Regions from separate parts of the Homo sapiens genome. Here all the other regions are linked to region 3. The links are contacts of gene promoters, found by promoter capture Hi-C in human tissues and cell types (Jung and others, 2019). All regions are on one chromosome and are shown on one strand. Each heading gives the region's core, a stretch centred on a gene start or on the middle of the fragment in contact. The rest is flanking DNA. Distances are from core to core; before and after follow the strand shown. Region 1 overlaps ZNF493 (zinc finger protein 493). Region 2 has its middle 8.7 kb from the start of ZNF66. Region 3 holds the start of ZNF714 (zinc finger protein 714). Region 4 holds the start of ZNF429 (zinc finger protein 429). Region 5 overlaps ZNF626 (zinc finger protein 626).

Region 1 (2,700 bases), core at 112-2,611, 340 kb after region 3:
GAATGTGGCAAAGGCTTTAATTAGTTCTCATCCCTTACTAAACATAAGAGAATTCATACCATAGAGAAATCCTACAAATATGAAGAATGTGACAAAGCTTTTAACCACTTCTCAACCCTGCCTACACGTAAGATAATTCATACTGGAAGGAAACCCTACAAATATGAGGAATGTCTCAAAGCTTTTTACTGATTCTTATACCTTACTAAACATAAAATAATTCATAAAGGAGATAAATTATACAAATGTGAAGAATGTGGCAAAGCTTTTAACAAATCCTCATCCATTAGTAAACATAAGATAATTCATACTGGAGAGAAAACCTACAAATGTGAGGAATGTGGCAAAGCCTTTAGCCTGTCCCTCCAATTTACTGCACATAAGATAATTTATACTGGAGAGAAGCCCTACAAATGTGAAAAATGTGGCAAACCTTTTAACCAATCCTCAACCCTTACTACACATTAGATAATTCATGCTGGAGAGAAACCCTACAAATGTGAAAAATGTGGCAAAGCTTTTAACCAATTTTCAAACCTTACTAAACATAAGATAACTCATACTGGAGAAAAATCTTACAAATGTGAAGAATGTGGCAAAGCCTTTATCCAGTCCTCAACTCCTAGTAAACATAATTAATGATGGAGAGAAACCATACAACTGTGAAGAATGTGGCAAAGCTTTTAACCAGTCCTCAAACTTTATTGAACAAAATAATTCATACAGGAGAGAAACCCTACAAATGTGAAGAATGTGACAAAGCCTTTAACCAGTCCTCAATTTTTACTAAACATAAGAAAATTCATACTGGAGAGAAACCCTATGATTGTGAAAAATATGGCAAAGGCTTTAACTAGTCCTCAGTTCTTAACACACATACGATAATTCTTACTGCAGAGAAACTCTACAAACCAGTAAGATGTGACAGTGCTTCTGACAACATCTCAAACTTTTCTAATCATAAAAGAAATCATATTGGTGAGAAATCCTAGAAATGTGGAGAATGTAACAAAGTATTTAAATGGTTGTCACACTTGATTATAGGTAATATTCATATTGGAAAAATTTCCTACAAGTAAGAACAATGTGGCAAAGTTTTTAACTAATACACCTTATTGCACAGAAAATCATTTATATTTGAGAAAAATTGTAGAAATATAGACTGTGAAAAAGACGTCAATATCTGCTCACATCTTACTAAACACCAGAGAGTTCATGCTTAATAAAAGCATGATAAGTGCAATTACTGCCAAAAGATCTTTCAGAAAATATTATCCTTTAAAGTGAAGGAGAGTATTTATATTAAAGATGAACATTACAACCATAAAGAGGGTTGAAGTACCTTTACTTGTATCAGATCTTATTGTCCACATTTTGTACTACAGAAAAACTCTGAAGAGGTCACTCAAACTTTGTTCAACATCAGGGAATTTATATTGGAGAGCTGTCTTGCAAATGTAATAAATTTGGGAAAACAAATTTTCAAAAACTACAGCTTAGAAAACACCAGAGTTTATACGAAAATATATTTTCAAAGGTGTAGTAAAAATAAAAAAAATTTTAATCCAAATTTGTCTATGTAAATACCAGAATTTATAGTAGAAATATATGAGGAAGCGACACTTCGAATATTCTACTAAATGAGAGTTCTGAGTATAGAAAATAAAACTAAAGTTGGTAGAAAAATTATTTGTATATAATGTTAAGAGGAGTAAAAGATTTTTTGTAGAATAATAACTATATTCGGATTATACTTTGTTTCTTGAAAAAATTACAGATTTTTTGAAAAGCAAATGATGTAACTCAACTCATTATTTTCTGCTGTTTCTTCATTCTTATTCACTTGTGAAAGCTTGTGATCATTTGTTGCTGCATCAGAGGTATGAGAGATTCTTCTTCATTAGATGGGCATTATTTATGATCTTTTCTATGGATGAGTAAGAATATTAAAATGTAAGATGCATGGTGAAAATCTAAGTGGAGAGGTTCTTTGTGGTTAACTTATACTATTGAGTGATGCACAAGGTAGGTGTTAAGAGTAATATTCTTTTGCATTATGAGAAAACTAGTATATTATTCATATATTTTACTAATTGTACTTTTTTTATTATACTTTAAGTTTTAGGGTACATGTGCACAATGTGCAGGTTAGTTACATATGTATACATGTGCCATGCTGGTGCGCTGCACCCACTAACTCGTCATCTAGCATTAGGTATATCTCCCAATGCTATCCGTCCCCCCTCCCCCCAATTGTACTTTTATATAATAAAATGCAGTACATTTTAAAAAATTTTAAATTCTGTGTGAAGGTAACTGTTTCAACATTTTTAACATGGTAAATATTATTGTGCATTCAATAAAGTGTTGTTATGCCACAAAGATTAACATTTTCCACCTTACCAAATGGCATACGTAAAAGATGGTAACAATATACTATTTGGTAACATCATGGACTAACATCTGTAGTCATCTCTTTTGCCAGTGGCTTCGAACTGCAAATAAGTTAAAGAATATTGTTCTTATAGGTTAAATTTTTATTTTTATTTTAATCATTTAAATTTATTTTTCTTAATTTTTGTGGGTACATGAGTTTATATACTTATGCCATATATGGCATATTTTGATACACAAATACAATATGTAATAATCACATTGGGATACGTGTGGTATCCATCACCTCTAGCACTTATTTCTTTG
Region 2 (2,808 bases), core at 132-2,631, 310 kb before region 3:
ATGAACCAAACCTCCAAGAAGCTTGGAATTATGTAAAAAACCAAACCTAAGAATAATTGGTGTCCCCAGGGAAGAAGTGAAATCTAAAAGTTTGGAAAACTTATTTGAGGAAATAACTGAGAAAAACTTTCCTGGCCTTACTAGAGATCTAGACATCCAAATACAAGAAGTTCAAAGAACTCCAAGGAAATTCATCACAAGAAGATCATCACCTAGGCACACAGTCATCAGGTTATCTGAAGTCAATATACAGGAAAGATTTTTAAGAGCTGTGAGAAAAAAGCATCAGGTAACCTATAAAGAAAAACATATCAGATTACCAGCAGATTTCTCAACAGAATCCCTACAAGCTAGAAGGGATTGGGGTCCTATGTTTAGCCTCCTTAAACAAGACAAGCATCAGCCCAAATTTTGTATTCAGTGAAAATAAGCTTCATAAATGAAGAAAGATACGGTCTTTTCCAGACAAACAAATGCTTAGAGAATTCACCACTACCAAGCCACCACTGTAAGAACTGCTAAAAAGTGTTCTAAATCTTGAAACAAAACCTCAAAATACACTGAAATAGAACCTCCTTAAGGCATAAATCTCACAAGGCCTATAAAACAATAACACAATATAAGAGGTATTCAGGAAACTACTGGCACAATGAATAGAACAGTCCTTCACACCTCAATACTAATGTTGAATGTAAATGGCCTAAATGCTCCACTTAAAACATACACAATAGCAGAATAGATAAGAGTTTACCAATAAAATATCTGCTGTCTTCCAGAGACTCACCCAACACATAAGGACTAACATAAACTTAAGGTAAAGGATTGGAAAAAGATATTCCATGTAAACGTACCCTGATACCCTGAAAGCAAGCAGTAGTAGCCATTCTTACATCAGACAAACAAGCTTTAAAGCAAAAACAGGTAAAAAATAAAAAACACAAAGAGGGACATTATATAATGATAAAAAAGGACTAGTCCAATAGGAAAATATCATAATCCTAAATATATATGCACCTAACATTGGAGCTCCCAAATTCATGAAACAATTACTACTAGATCTAAGAAAAGGGATAAATGGCAACACAATAATAATGGGGAACTTCAATACTCTACTGACAGCACTAGACAAGTCATCAAGACAAAGTCAACAATAACAACAAAAAAGGGAATGGACTTAAACTATAACCTAGAACAAATGGACTTGACAAATATTTACAGAACATTCCACACAACAACTGCAGAATATACATTTTATTCATCAGCACATGGAACATTCTCCAAGATAGACACATGATAGGTCACAAAACAAGTCGCAATAAATTTAAGACAATCAAAATTATATCAACTACTCTCTCAGACTGCAGTGGAATAAAATTCAAAATCAACTCTAAATGAACCATCAAAACAATGCAAATACATGGAAATTAAATAAATTGTAGAAATTAAATAAATACATGGAAATTAAATAAATAATTAAATTTAAGATCAACCTGGTTCTGAATGATCTTTGGATGAAATCAAGATTTAAATTTAAAAATTCTTTGAACTGAACAATAATAATGGCACAACCTATCAAAACGTCTGGGATACAGCAGAAGTGGTGCTGAAAGGAAAGTTCATAGCATCAAGTTCTTCCATCAAAAAGTCTGAAAGAGCATAGGTTGACAATGTAAGATAACACCTCAAGGAACTAGAGGCACAAGAACAAGCCAAGCCCAAACCCAGCAGTAGAAAAGAAATATCAAAGATCAGAGCAGAACTAAATGAAACTGAAACAACAACAACAACGAAAATCCAAATGATAAATGAAATGAAAAGCTGGCTCTTAGAAAAGATAAACAAAATTGATAGACCATTAACAGCATTAACCAAGAAGAGAGAAGATCCAAATAAGCTCAATTAGAAATGAAACAGAAGATATTGCAACCGCTGCCACAGAAATACAAAAGATCATTTAGGGATACTGTGAACACCTTTATGTGCACAAATTAGAAAATGTAAAGGAGATGAATAAATTCCTGCAAATGTACAATCCTCCTAGATTAAAAAAAAAACAACTCTGAACAGACTAATAACAAGAAGCAAGATTGAAATAATAATTTAAAAAATTGCCAACCAAAAAAAAAATGTTCAGAACCAGGTGGATTCACAGCTGAATTCTACTAGCCTTTCAAAGAAAAATTGGTGGGGGTAAGGGAGGAGACCACCCCTCATATTGTCTTATGCCCAATTTCTGCCTCCAAAGAAAGAAAAAGTAAAAACTAAAAGGCAGAAATGAAATCCACAAGCAGACAGCCCAGCGCCACACCCTGGGCCTGGTAGTTAAAGATCGACCCCTGACCTAATTGGTTATGTTATCCATACATTACAGACATTGTATAGAAAAGCACTGTGAAAATCCCTATCCTGTTATGTTCCATTCTAATTACCAGTGTATGCAGCCCCCAGTCATGTACCCCCTGCTTGCTCAATCGATCATGACCCTCTCACGCAGACCCCCTTAGAGTTGTGAGCCCTTAAAAGGGACTAGAATTGCTCACTCGGGGAGCTCAGCTCTTGAGACAGGAGTCTTACCGATGTCCCCAGCCGAATAAACCCCTTCCTTCTTTAATTTGGTGTCTGAGGAGTTTTGTCTGTGGCTCATCCTGCTACAGGGGCAGGGCCAAGATGGCTGATTAGAAGCGGCATCCCATAGAAAAGAACCATAACAGTGTGTGAATGCTGTACCATAACCTGAGGTATCCATGTTCTTTCATCAGAACTGACTAGGTGGCTGGCGTGATCCATGGAGAGGAAGGAAGAGCAGTG
Region 3 (2,700 bases), core at 180-2,679:
GTCAGATACTTTGGTGCTATGCAAATACAATGCTTATTTTTTAAGTGTTATTTACAATTTTTACACTCCTCAGTTAACCTTGGATACAATAATAACTGGTGGTTTTGTGATGGTTTCTTTAGCATTTTATCTATGTTGATTAGTATTTGGAATTCTGTAAAAAAAAATTTCCCTATCCTTTTTTCTTTTTTATTTATTTAAAGTTTTTTGTGTATCAGTGTAAATGCATGGGTATTTATTTATTTGACTTGATTTATTTTATAGGTCAGTGCTCTAATTATTCATTTGGATGCTAACATTGTTCCAGGATGGACCATTGGGAGTTCTTTCAGGCTGGCTCCCTTTGACATGTTCCCATCATTTTTTAAAATTAAAAAAAAAGAAAGAAAAAACATTTTGAGGCTGGGTGCGGTGGCTCACGCCTGTAATCCCAACACTTTGGGAGGCCAAAGCGGGCAGATCACCTGAGGTCAGGAGTTCAGGACCAGCCTGGCCAACATGGTGAAACCCCGTGTCTACTAAAAATACAAAAAATTAGCCGAGCATGGTGGCGCGCGCCTGTGATCTCATCCAGCAGTGCTTTACTTGTAATTATTTTATTCCTGCTGCCGTCTCCTCTTTCTTTGGCCACTATCTGTTCCACCCCCGGAACGGAAGAGAGATGTTGGTAGGGAGAGGCTCTTCCTTCACCTCTGGCAGAAAAGGTTTGCTTGGGCCCTTCACACCGCTGACATCAGAGCTGCACTTCAATGTGGCAGTTATTGGCCATGTGTGGCGCCTGGTCTGAAGTGCGATGCTAGAAAGGTAAAATACAGAGTTAGTTTCAAAGATTTAGTTCCAAATATTTATATACTTTATTAATAATTACATATTTCTCACACATTAAAATGAAAATTTTTTTGATATATTGGGTTAATTAAATTGTTACAATCAATTCAACCTGTTCTTGTTTCTTTTTCAAGTTTGGCTACTAGAAAACTTAAAATTCACATATGGCTCACATTTTATTTCAGAGGATTACCTCCTTTCTAAAATCTCAGCCTGCCTGCTCAAAGACCAGAAAGAAGCCAGGAAGGTCATAAAATCTGAAATTTTAAAATAATTGTTATTATAAAATTATATTTTTTCCTTTGTGAAGAGCCATATATTATTTATAAATGCATATGACTTTACACACAAGTTTAAAGGCAAATTCCCTCTGGGGTGGGCCTGGCTCAGCTCTGGGAGGAAGCCCTGCCTGAGAAGGCTGCAGCCTAGGCTGTCACCCTTTCTTCACTCAGCCCAGCAACTGATCACATCTTCTGTCACTCAGGGCACGAGAAGGTGGGGTTTTAAAAGTTATCCAATCAGCGACGCTGGGTTGGGAACCGTCCAATCAGGCCTGCAGCTGGAGCGGACAGGACGGCTTCGGGGATGTGGCGGGGCCTTTGTCTCTCGCTGCAGCTGGAGCTGCAGGTCTCGCCTTCACTGCCCTGTGTCCTCTGCTCGCAGAGGCCCAGCCTCTGTGGCCCTGTGACCTGCAGGTATTGAGAGATCCACAGCTAAGACGCCAGGTACCCCGGAAGCCTAGAAATGGTGAGAGTGCCGGGTCCGACATCCCGAGAGAGGGGAAGGGGCGGGTTGTAAGCGGTGGGAAGTGGCTGTGGTGGGACTTAGGCCTCCCCGCAGTCAACTCTACAATCTGCGCCCGGAGTTCTCCTTGCTCAGCTCGGCCTCAGTCCCCTTCAGCCATAAGATGGCGGCTGCGCTGACTGCGGGATCCCGGGCGTCCTGTCTTTTCCCTGCGCAGTGACTGGGCCCTGACCTGGAGTCCTCTCAGGGCAGCTCTGGACCCTCAGCGGCGCGTCTCTCCCGGATTGTGCAGGGACCACTGGAGGGTCCCAGGGGTAGAATCCTGACTCGGGGTGCGGGTTTATGAATGGGTCCGTGGGGTTCCAGTTCCTCTTCTGTTGAAAATGTATGGGAGTCACCGTTAAAACACTAAAGCATTTAATCAAAGCGTGATTCAAAAATTGTGGAGCACCCAGCTGTGGTTTGTAATTTATGGTTTATGGGCGGGGCTTGAAGTAAAGACTTTTATAAACAGCATGATGAAGAAAACCAAATTCAGTAATTGGTTAGGTTCAGATACATAGTTTCTTAATTTGTAAAATAAAGGTGAAAATTTCCTGGTTATGTAATTAGATGTTAATTGGCAGTTTATAGTTGGTTAAGGATGAATTTTGTTTCTCTCAATGTAGTAATTTACTAAAAATGCACCTCAGTTAGATTTTTTTTTTTTAAGATGGAGTTTCGCTCTTGTTGCCCAGGCTGGAGTGCAATGGGGCGATCTTGTCTCACCGTAACCTCTGCCTCCCGGGTTCAAGCGATCCAATGCTTCAGCCTCCCAGGTAGCTGGGATTACAGGCATGCGCCACCACGCCCGTCTAATTTTGTGGTTTTAGTAGAGACGGGTTTCTGCATGTTGGTCAGGCTGGTCTCGAACTCCCGACCTCAGGTGATCTGCCCTCCACGGCCTCCCCAAAGTGCTGGGATTACAGGCGTGAGCCACCGCGCCCAGCCAGATTTTTTTAAAAGTAGGAATCCAGGGACTAGAGACACCTCAGTCTAATTTCCCGCCGCTTAATTATTTTCACACTCCATGGGGAACTGATTTTCTGGTGCATTTTTCAACTGTGTCCCAAGCACTGTCTTAAATCT
Region 4 (2,700 bases), core at 112-2,611, 420 kb after region 3:
TTAGTAGAGAGAGGCTGTCTCCTCACCTCTGGCAGAAAAGGGATGTTCAGGGCCTCCACCCACCTGACATCAGAGCTGCACTTCAACGTGGTGGCTGTTGGCCATGTGTGGCTCCTGGGTGCCTGGAATGTGCCTGGTCTGAACTGCAATTTGCTAGAAAAGTAAAATACAGAGTTGGTTTCGAAGATTTAGTTCCAAAAATATATATAGTGCCTTAATAATTACATATTGCTGTGACCCCAGAAAATCTGAGACATCAGTTAATTTAGAAAGTTTATTTTGCCAAGGTTGAGAACACGCCTATGACATAGTTTCAGGAAGTCTTGAGGACACCTGCCCAAGGTGGTCAGGGAACATATTGGTTTTATACATTTTAGGGAGACATGAGACATCAATCAATATATGTAAGAAGTACATTGGTTCAGTCTGAAAAGGTGGGACAACTTGAAGCAAAGGCAGGAAGACACGAAGCTGGAGGGAGCTTCCAGGTCACAGATAGGTGGACTCAAATTCTTTTGAGTTTCTGATTGGCCTTTAGTTCCCAGCTTGAGTTTTCCTTAGTAATTTTGGGGGCCCAAGATATTTTCCTTTCACATTGCTCACATATTAAAATTATAATACTTTAAACATATTGGGTTAGTTACATTATTACAATCAATTCCACGTGTTTCATGTTTCTTTTTAAAGTTTGGCTACTGGAAAATTAAAAATTCACATGTGGCTCACATTTTATTTCAGAGGACTGCCTCCTTTTTAAAATCTCAGGCTGCCTGCTCAAAGGACCAGAAGCTAGGAAGGTGATAAAAGCTAAAATTTAAAAGTAATTGTTATTATATTCTTTTCATTTGTGACTAGCCATATAGTATATTTATAAATGCATATGACCTTACACACAAGGTTCAATGCAAACACCCTCTAGGGTGGGCCTGGCTCAGCTCGGAGGAAAGCCTGCCTGAAAAGGCTGCAGCTAGGCTGTCACGCTTCATTCTGCCCAGCAACTGATCACCCTCTGTCACTCAGGGCCTGAGAGGGCGGGTCTTAAACATTATCCAATCAGGCACGCAGCTGGAGCGACAGGACGGTTTCCGGAATATGGCGGGGCGTTTGGCTCTTGCTGCAGCCAGAGCTCCAGGTCTCGTCTTCATTTCTGTGTCCTTTGTTCTTAGAGGCCCAGCCTGTGTGGCCCTGTGACCCGCAGATATTGGGAGATACACAGCTAAGACTCCAGGACCCCCTGGAAGCCTAGAAATGGTGAGAGTGCCGAGTCTGACATCCCCAGAGAGGGGGAGGGGCTGGTCGGAACCGTGAGAAGTGGCCGTGGCGGACTTAGGTCTCCCGGCAGTCAGCTCCACAATCTGCGCCCGGAATTCTCCTTGCCCAGCTCGGCTTCAGTCCCCTTCAGCCATAAGATGGCGACTGTGCTGACAGCCGGGCCCCGGGCGTCCTGTCTTCCCTCCGCAGTGACTGTGCCTGACGTGTAGCCCTGTCTGGGGAGCTCTGCACGCGCAATTCCGCAGTCTCTCCCAGATTGTGCAAGAACCATGGGAGGGGCGTCAGGTGAGAATAGTGACTCGGGATGCGGGTTCATGAGCGGGAAGAGCTTTGGTCCGTGGGGTTCCCAGTTCCCATTCTCTCCTATTAAAAATCTATGGGAGTGGCCGGGCGCGGTGGCTTATGCCTGTAATCCCAGCAGTTTGCTGGGAGGCGGGCAGATCACTGAGGTCCGGCATTCGAGAACAGCCTGGCCAACATGGTGAAACCCCCTCTCTGCTAAAAATACAAAAATTAGCCGGATGTGGTGGCAGGCATCTGTAATCCCAGCTATGTGGGAGGCTGAGGCACGAGAATCGCTTAAACCCAGGAGACCAAGATTGTGCCATTGCACTCCAGGCTGGTTGACACAATGAGACTATCTCAAACAAAAAAAAAAAAAAAAAAGGGGAGTCACTGCAAAATATTAAAGAATTTAATTAAAGAGTGGTTCTAAAATTGTAAAGCACCCAGCTGTGGGATGTAGTTTGTGGTCCTTTGGAGGAGCTTGAAGGAAAGACTTTGCGCATGGTACAAAAACGCAAATTCAGTTATTGGTTAGGTAGGGTTACGTAGTTTCTTAATTTCCATCTTCAGCTTACAAAATTTCCTGGTTATGTAATCAGAGCTTAATTCCAGTTAATAGTTAACCCTGTATTTGTTTTCCCCAGTGTAGTAATTTACAAAAAAAAAAGCATTTGAGTTAGTTTTTTGTTTTTTTTTTTTTTTTTTTGAGATGGAGTTTCCCTCTTCTTGCCCAATCTGGACTGCAGTGGCGCGATCTCGGCTCACTGCACCTTCCGCCTCCGTGTTCAAGTAATTCTCCTGCCTCAGCCTCCTGAGTAGCTGGGATTATAGGCAGGCACCACCACGCCCGGCTAATTTTGTATTTTTAGTAGAGACGGGGTTTCTCCGTGTTGGTCAGGCTTGTCTTGAACTCCCGACCTCGGGTGATCCGCCCATCTCGGCCTCCCAAAGTGCTGGGATTACAGGCGTGAGCCACGGCTCCCGGCTTGAGTTAGATCTTTTAAAAGTAGGAATTCAGGGACTACAGCCACCTCAGTCGAATTGCCTACCACTTAACTATTTTCACTCCCTACACAAAACTGATCTTCCCCTGCATTTTTCACAGGTGTCCTAAGCAGGGTCTCAAATCTACTCCCACGCCCC
Region 5 (2,700 bases), core at 54-2,553, 430 kb before region 3:
TTGCTTTCGCAGTATAAGTACTTCAGCCTGCAAATATTGGATAGTTACCTTGGATTATCAGGTTTCTGTCAAAGAAACTGAGTATCATTTAGTCTTTATTATTCTGTATTGCTACCTTTACTCCTATCTTTGTGCTAAGCTTCTGTGTGCTCTTAAAATGAGCTTGTATCTAAACAAATCTGTGTCTACCTTAAAGGAATAAAAATCAAAAAAATAAACTTTTCGGAACCAAAAACAAAGCAATACATCTTAAGTACTTATAATAATCTGGAGTCAGAAAAAATGACAAAACTTTTATTTAGCTGTTGACATGATTTACATATATTTCAAACAAGCAGAGAAAAATATCTACATATATTCTAAATCCCTTAAGAAAAGAGGGAATAGCGGCCAGGCACGGTGGCTCATGCCTGCAATCCCAACACTTTGGGAAGCCAAGGCAGGTGGATCACAAGGTCAGGAGATCAAGACCATCCTGGCAAACATCGTGAAACCCCGTCTCTACTAAAAATACAAAAAAAAGAACAAAAAAATTAGCTGGGCATGGTGGCGGGTGCCTGTAGTCCCAGCTACTTGGGAGGCTGAGGCAGGAGATTGGCGTGAACCCAGGAGGCAGAGGTTGCAGTGAGCCGAGATCGCGCCACTGCACTCCAGCCTGGGTGGCAGAGCGAGACTTTGCCTCAAAAAAAAAAAAGAAAAGAGGGAATAGCAAAATTTTTTTTTGGAACTTTTTGAAGAGTTTGAACTCTTGGACATCTGAAATTAGCACACTGTATGCACTTGAAATAATGTTTACAGGGGAAAAACCAGAAGAGAGAAAGATATATGAAATCCGTAAGTGCACAAGACCAACACAACAGAATAGAGAGCCCAGAAATAATGTCACCCTCCTACACTCATCAGATTTTTGACAAAGCTGACAAGAGGAATATGGGAAGAATTCTCTCTTTAATAAATGGTGCAGGAATAACTACCTAGCACTATGTAGAAGACTGAAACTGGACCCCTTCATTACACCATATACAAAAATCAACTCAAGATAAATTAAAGACTTAAATGAAAAACTTAAAATTATAAGAAACTCTGCAAGATAACATAGAGAATAACATTCTAGATATAGACACTGGCAAAGACTTCATGATGAAGCTACCAAAAGCAATTGCAACAAAAGCAAAAACTGACAAATTGGACCTATTTAAACTAAAGAGCTTCTTCACAGCAAAGGAAACTATAAATAGCTCAAACAAACAACCTACAGAATAAAAGAAAATATTTGCAAACGTTGTCTATGACAAAGGTCTAACATACAGAATTTATTAAGAATTTAAACAAGTTTACAAGAAAAAGGCAAACATCTCATTAAAAAGTAGGCAAATAACACGAACAGATGCTTGTCAAAAGAAGACATACATGTGGCTAACAAGCATTATTAAAAAAAAAAAAAAGGTCATCGCTAGTCATTAGAGAAATTAAAAGAAAAACCACAATGAGATACCACCTCACACCCATCAGAATGGCTGTTTTTCATAAGTCAAAAAATAACAGATGCTGGCAAGGTTGCAGAGAAAAGGGAATGCTTATACTCTTCTGGTGGGAGTGTAAATTAGTTCAACAACAGTAAAAAGCAGTGTGGTGATTCCTCACAGAACTAAAAACAGAATTATCAATTTGACCCAGGAATCTCATAATTGGGTATATAGCCAAAGAAATATAAATTATTATATTATAAAGACATATTCACATGCATGTTCATTGCAGCACTATTCACAATAGCAAAGACGTAGACAGGCCCTGAATGCCTATCACTGGTAGACAAGATAAAGAAAATATGGTATGGTCAGATGCGGTGGCTCATGTCTGTAATCCCAGCATTTTGGGAGGCCGAGGCAGGTGGATTGCCTGAGCTTAGAAGTTTGAGACCAGCCTGGTCAACATGGCAAAATCCTGTCTCCACAGAAAATACAAAATGAAAAATTGGCCAGGCATGGTAATGCATACGTGTGTAGTCCCAGCTACTTGGGAGGATGAGGTAGGAGAGAACTGCTTGAGCCTGAAAGATGGAAGCTAAAGTACGCCAAAATCATGCTATGGCACTCTAGCCTGGGCAATAAGCCTATCTCCAAAAATAAAATAAAATAAAAGATTTAGTAAATACAAAATATGGTACATAAACATCATGGAATACTCTGTGGCCATTAAAAAAAAATGACCATGTCCTTTGCAATAACACTGATGAAGCTGGAGACAATTATTCTTAGAAAACTAATGCGGAGTCCAGGCATGGTGGCTCACGCCTGTAATCCCAGTACTTTGGGAGGCCGAGGTGGGATAATCACCTGAGTTCAGGAGTTTAAGACCAGCCTGACCAACATGGAGAAACCCCTCTCTACTAAAAATACAAAATTAGCTAGGTGTGGTGGCATGCGACTCTAATCCCAGCTACATAGGAGGCTGAGGCAGGAGAATTGCTTGAATCCAGGAGGCGAAGGTTGCGGTGAGCCGAGGTGGCACAATTGCACTCCAGCCTGGGCAACAAGAACAAAAATCCATCTCAAAAAAACAAAACAAAAAACAAACAAAAAAAAGAAAATTAATGCAGAAACAGAAAACCAAATGCATGTTATTATTTATAAGTAAGAGCTAAGTAATAAGAACACATGAACACAAACAGAACAGACACTGAGGCCTAGTTGAGGGGGG

The links. Contacts are between HindIII fragments. The study calls those that stand out against the background at their distance.
Region 1: a fragment that was not itself captured here is called in contact with the fragment with the promoter of ZNF714 in region 3 in 2 of the 25 tissues and cell types used here (aorta and dorsolateral prefrontal cortex).
Region 2: a contact is called between a fragment that was not itself captured here and the fragment with the promoter of ZNF714 in region 3, in 1 of the 25 tissues and cell types used here (adrenal gland).
Region 4: a fragment that was not itself captured here is called in contact with the fragment with the promoter of ZNF714 in region 3 in 1 of the 25 tissues and cell types used here (dorsolateral prefrontal cortex).
Region 5: a fragment that was not itself captured here is called in contact with the fragment with the promoter of ZNF714 in region 3 in 1 of the 25 tissues and cell types used here (H1 embryonic stem cells).

The regions. Positions count from the first base shown.
Region 1 is chr19:21,425,196-21,427,895 of GRCh38, forward strand. ZNF493 (zinc finger protein 493) reads left to right here. Exons shown (of 4, transcript NM_001076678.3): 4 at 1-2,382. Among named protein-coding and RNA genes, the nearest start is that of ZNF493, 29 kb to the left of the region's middle. The HindIII fragment of the contact is 5,489 bases long and covers 1-2,700 here.
Region 2 is chr19:20,766,223-20,769,030 of GRCh38, forward strand. No RefSeq gene overlaps it. Among named protein-coding and RNA genes, the nearest start is that of ZNF66, 8.7 kb to the right of the region's middle. The HindIII fragment of the contact is 4,061 bases long and covers 1-2,808 here.
Region 3 is chr19:21,080,774-21,083,473 of GRCh38, forward strand. ZNF714 (zinc finger protein 714) reads left to right here and starts at 1,430. Exons shown (of 5, transcript NM_182515.4): 1 at 1,430-1,575. RefSeq lists an enhancer at 1,769-1,918. The HindIII fragment of the contact is 9,806 bases long and covers 1-2,700 here.
Region 4 is chr19:21,504,524-21,507,223 of GRCh38, forward strand. It overlaps ZNF429 (zinc finger protein 429), which reads left to right and starts at 1,079. Exons shown (of 4, transcript NM_001001415.4): 1 at 1,079-1,251. The coding sequence starts at 1,249. RefSeq lists enhancers at 860-1,462, 1,078-1,397, 1,408-1,767, 1,463-2,064. The HindIII fragment of the contact is 8,511 bases long and covers 1-2,700 here.
Region 5 is chr19:20,655,253-20,657,952 of GRCh38, forward strand. All of the region lies in intron 1 of ZNF626 (zinc finger protein 626), which reads right to left. Among named protein-coding and RNA genes, the nearest start is that of ZNF626, 5.0 kb to the right of the region's middle. The HindIII fragment of the contact is 8,024 bases long and covers 1-2,700 here.